Regions from separate parts of the Homo sapiens genome. Here region 1 is linked to region 2. Evidence: promoter capture Hi-C in human tissues and cell types (Jung and others, 2019). All regions are on one chromosome and are shown on one strand. Each heading gives the region's core, a stretch centred on a gene start or on the middle of the fragment in contact. The rest is flanking DNA. Distances are from core to core; before and after follow the strand shown. Region 1 has its middle 280 kb from the start of G2E3. Region 2 holds the start of G2E3 (G2/M-phase specific E3 ubiquitin protein ligase).

Region 1 (2,700 bases), core at 139-2,638, 280 kb before region 2:
TATTTCAAATATTATTTTTGAATTCTCTGTTAAATGATATTTTTTAACTTTTTAAAAAACGAGTACAATTTTTTCCTTTGAAATTAAATAGATTACTTGGTTTCCAACATTTAATTATGTCTATCATCAGAAAAACTTTTCGCTTAATGGAATTATTTAAACAATATTATATTAATGGAAAACATTATTCTCAGGACTAATTAGGTGCCTTTGATGTGAACTCCTTTGCATTCACTGTATGCATGACATACTACTGTCTTATAGTGCAATGAATAGCAGAGCAATGATGATTCAATAAATGTAGATCCATTTTGCATATTTGCATAACTTAAGAAATACCAACATCATTTTCTGAGAAGCCTTCCCTGATTTTCAGCCTAGATCCAATTTCTCTGACATATGTTCACAAAGCTGCATACTTTTCCTTCACAGTATTAAGTATCTAATATCACATTTCTTTGTTAATAATTATTAATGTCGATCTACCCACTAGAGTGCCATTGCTTTCCTAGTGTTACATGAATAAATGAATCAGTGAAGTCATGCGTCATTACTAGAGTATGTTTCTACTCCATTCCATTTATTTATTTATTTATTTATTTATTTATTTATTTATTTATTTATTTTGAGACAGAATCTTGCTCTGTCGCCCAGGCTGAAGTGCAGTGGCATGATCTCCGCTCACTGCAAGCCCCGCCTCCCGGGTTCAAGTGATTCTCCTGCCTCAGCCTCCCGAGTAGCTGGGACTACAGGCACACACCACCACGCCTGGCTGATTTTTTGTATTTTTACTGGAGACGGGGTTTCACCGTGTTAGCCAGGATGGTCTTGATCTCCTGACCTGGTGATCCGCCCGCCTCGGCCTCCCAAAGTGCTGGGATTACAGGCGTGAGCCACCACACCCAGCCTATTTTCTTTTTGTATTCAACAATAATGAAAACCTATAAGCCCCTCAATAATGGAAGCTAAATCTTATTTCTCTTTGGGCCCAACACAGTGCCGGGCTCTTAAAACTCAGGAACATGGCTTTAGCTGAAAAGTCTGTGTCAGAGCCCGAAGCCCTTTAAGGTTGAGCGGCGTCAACCAGGAAGTCTTTAGCCACTGCCACAAAAGGGCTCATCTGGCCTCCAGATTTGACAAGAGTTTTCACTTCTACTTATGTCCAACTTCCTTCCTTTTTCTTGATTTCTAGGATCCAGCCCAGCTTGGTTTGGACTTTTTCGGTAACATCTATCCCCAGACTCTGGTTCCTCTCTCACTGGGCCCTACCTCTTGACTAGTTAGGCACCTTTCCTTGAAGAAGCATTTCTCAAGCTTCCTGGGCTTTAGCTCTCTGCTGCCCCCATTAGGCAGTAATCATTGCCAGAGTAACTCCTAGAGAAATCTGCCTGCTCAAACTTAAGTAGCTATTCTGATTTGTCTCAAGATAAGGTCCCAATGCTTTCAACTTGTTTATGTATAAAAATTATATGTAACCCAAATTCTCCATTTCATTTTTAAAATCATTTAAAGCAGAATACTAAGTGTTAGAAGGAGACCCACTGTGACTTTGTGCCCACTGAATAGGCTAGATTTACAAGGCAAGCACTGAAGATAGTTATTTCTGGCTGAGGCTACTTTTGCAATCCAAGTAATGACATGAAGGCAATAGTTGAGATGATGTATGTCCATCGACACATTTGCTTGTCATCCTAACAACAGTCATAAAAATTAAAATGCACACTTTAATATTGAACACAGTTTATTTGTCTGAAAAAATTCTTTATTAACATAACAGAACCCATATTATTGAAACACAAGTTACATACGTTGTGCATTACCACTTAAAGTAAATCAAGGAATAACAAAAAATTAACCACTGGACAACTGAGTTGGTTAGAGGAGAGAGAGTGAGGAGTTACTTTTTATTTTTTGCCTTTCTGTTCACTTTGAAATGTCTAAATGTGTACATATACGCTTCTTATTCTTAAATATCAGCAGAGGCTATCAAGGTAGAGAGATTGTGGAGTATATTTTCAATGTCTTCTGTATATTTTTGTTTTTAAGAAGCTAAAATTCATTTTAATAAAGAAATAGGGCAGAAATTTTTTAATTAAGAAAATGACACTTAGAGGAATATCGAAGTAATAAAACTAGCTAGCATAGATCAAGTACTTCCTGACCAATTTAAAATATATTTATTTATTGCCTAATGATCAAACATTGAAGAAAGACTTCGCTTACAAAGTCTCCCATAAAAATCCTGAAAAGTAGTCCTAGGTCGCAGTCAGCACAGAGGGCAGAGGTCACACTGAGAGCGACCTGCCTCCTGTAGCTTCAGAGAACCTGGTATTTACCCAGCAGTAAGCATTGGACTGGGTACCTGTTACGTGCTATTTATACAGTTATGACTTGGTGGTACTTCTTGCCCCCAAGGTGCCTACAGTCTCATGGAGGAAACAGATGCATGTAAAACAAATAATTAAAATATTCTATCACATTTTACATAGTTAAAATATTTTATGTACAACACCCCAAGAGTGCACAGAGGACGAAAGAGCTATCTTTAGGGGGAGAGAATAGAAGGTATTTCATTGAAAATATAATATTGCCAAATACCTTATGAAGCTGAAAATCAAACTACTTAACCAAGAAACAGTTCATAATGTACTAACATAAGAGAATGACACTCAAAATTTTTACCACGCTAGCCTCAAACTC
Region 2 (2,700 bases), core at 185-2,684:
ATCAGATGCTAAAGTATCATAACTTACATGTATTTAACCCCTTCCTTATTTGTAGACACAGATTATTTTCTATCTTCCACTGTTAAAAACAGTACATCAGTTAATAGCTTTACACACCCCCTGTGTCAGATTACCTGTAGCATAGGTTCTCAGAAATCTAGTAAACCTTTCAAACTGTATTTTTTTTTTTTTTTTTTTTTTTTTTTTGAGACAGAGCCTCGCTCTGTCGCCCAGGCTGGAGTGCAGTGGCGCAATTTCTGCTCACTGCAAGCTCCGTCTCCCGGGTTCACACCATTCTCCTGCCTCAGCCTCCCGAGTAGCTGGGACTACAGGCGCCTGCCATCACGCCCAGCTAATTTTTTGTACATTTAGTAGAGACGGGGTTTCACCATGTTAGCCAGGATGGTCTCGATCTCCTGACCTCGTGATCCACCCGCCTCGGCCTACCAAAGTGCTGGGATTACAGGCGTGAGCCACCGCGCCCGGCCCTCAAACTGTATTTTTGACAAAGGCTAAAGGTATGCTGTCATGGTTTGGTTTGTACTGATCCGTTTAGGTAATTCAATGTTATTAGATGTGAGGATGATCTGGTGGCAACATCAATCACAGCCATAAAGGTCAGAGTTATTTAGCGCCCCTCACCCCCTAGCATTTCCAGTCCTTCCTTTAGTTTCTGGAAGCTCCCAGATGTCTCTTCAGAAGCTTAAGACGTTTTGGATCAAAGACATACTGTGGTCCTCGATAAAGGAAAAGATACTGTTGTTTCAATAATCTCACGGGACAATACTTAATAATCTCGTAAAGTGAGCCCTTATCTGAGGGGGGAAATAAAATTTATTGCCTTCTAACACCATCAAATAGTTTATTTGAGACCAGGAATTGGTCCGACCACTTATTTTCAACTTTTGGCTGAATACGGGTGAACTTGGCTTTTTGTTTTCCCTAAACCCAGGACAGAAATAAATTAAAAGCCCTGACTGTGCCGGGATAGGACTGAGAGGCCCAGGAAAGGCTGCACTAAGTACTTGGAGGGTTTGTTTTTTTCCTTCTTGCTGCTGCTGCTGTTTCCTCGAGGATGAAGGGAAAGATAAAACCCTCCTGCCTCCGTTCGTGCTTTCATTCGCCCCATTCCTCGAAGGTGACGAAACTTCAGCACATCTCTGTCCATTTTGGAAAAAAGAGGATCCCCTCAAGAGCAAATAGGCGGAAACAATGACCCCGCGCCCGGAGTTTTTCTGAGCTCCTAAATAGGGAGAGAGACCCGACAAAACAAACAAGCGAAGGCGACACAGCCAGGTTAGCACCGAGCAGCAGCGCAGGAGCGCCAGAAGGGCGGGAGCACACGGGCCCTTCCCCACAGCCAGCGCCTCCGCGGGTCCCACCCCTCGAGGGCGGGGCCGACCGCTCTTTCCGGGTTTGCGAGCGGAAGTGGACGAATTTGAATCCTGTGGGCCGTTGAATGTGGCTGCTCGCGGTCGGCGTGCCCCGACGTACAGCGGGCCGGGAAAAGTGGCACTGAGGCTCTGGAACTTCTGCCCAGCTCTCCTTGGTGAGTAAATGGGGAACGGGAAGACGCAGAACGTTCCAGAGAGAGAAGCAGGACCGTGGGGTGGGAGAGGGTGTCAGGAGGCCGGACGTCGCAGCCGGGGCCTCGCAGTGCTTTTGGGGACGTCTGGTGCTGGGGCCCGGCCTGGAGACTAAGGGAATTCGGGGCACTGGGGGCGTTTGCTGGACCAGCGCTCTCGACGGTTGCGCACGCCAGCCAGCTCTCAGTGTTGAGGATTCGGAGGCCCTGCCGGTCCCCCGCGAGTAAACCTTGTTTATACGCATCCTCCGTGGCTTTTTTTAAACCCGTAGTTTATTATTTCCACCAATTCGGCTCGAATGCTGAAATTTTAACAGTAGTTAAATCTCACTGTGAAGGCGTTGCCACGTTTAAACAAATCTCTTTTAATGAAAGATGGAAGGTTGGGGCGGGTTTAGAATGAAAAGATGCTCTACGTGGCTCCGCGTTCCTCCTGAGAGAGATACCCGGGCAACCTTGATTAACTCTGGACTGCAGGGAAGTGACAGTCTTTGAAATGCCTGAGTGGGATTTAAACTGAAATTCGAGTGTCCTTTGTATTTAAAACCCGGATATTTTTCTTTCACGGTTGACATTTTTCATGTACCGCAAAAATCCGAGACTCCTATTTAAACCGGCTGTGGTAACAGCGGTGGTGATTAACTAGGGTCTTAGTTTGCAAACAATAGGGATAAGGTTTAGTTCCACCGCCCTGCCTTTTCGCCTCCCTCATTCATTGGCCAACTGGGTTATTATGGAGTCTTTTTGGAAGTAATCCACTAATGCTTTGAGCATCTGTTTCTTTGGGTTTTATTGTTTTGGGCTTTTTTTTTTTTAATTTTTAATGATGAACTATCTGAAATATGGAACTCTGTCTAACCCAGTAGTAAAGTCATGCCTTCTGGAATGGTTTAAAAGTGTGCCATAAATGTAAACTATAAATGGGAACTTTAAATGTGTACAAGTTTTACATCTTTATTAAAAATCGTCAGTTTTGTGTAGCTTAATACGAAAAGATATTTTAAGTTCCTTTTAAGGTTTTAACACCAGGATATTGTACCATTTAAATGTATAAATATATTTTTAAAAGTAGGACTTCATAATAATCAGAATAAAAACATTCCTTCATCCAGTGC

What was found. The method cuts DNA at HindIII sites, captures the fragments that hold promoters and counts their contacts. A contact is called where the count stands out against the background at its distance.
Region 1: a contact is called between a fragment that was not itself captured here and the fragment with the promoter of G2E3 in region 2, in 2 of the 25 tissues and cell types used here (IMR-90 fibroblasts and mesendoderm cells).

What each region holds. Positions count from the first base shown.
Region 1 is chr14:30,282,687-30,285,386 of GRCh38, forward strand. No RefSeq gene overlaps it. Among named protein-coding and RNA genes, the nearest start is that of G2E3, 280 kb to the right of the region's middle. The HindIII fragment of the contact is 6,239 bases long and covers 1-2,700 here.
Region 2 is chr14:30,557,724-30,560,423 of GRCh38, forward strand. G2E3 (G2/M-phase specific E3 ubiquitin protein ligase) reads left to right here and starts at 1,435. Exons shown (of 15, transcript NM_017769.5): 1 at 1,435-1,549. The region is part of intron 3 of G2E3-AS1 (G2E3 antisense RNA 1); the gene reads right to left. RefSeq lists an enhancer at 1,101-1,290. The HindIII fragment of the contact is 13,115 bases long and covers 1-2,700 here.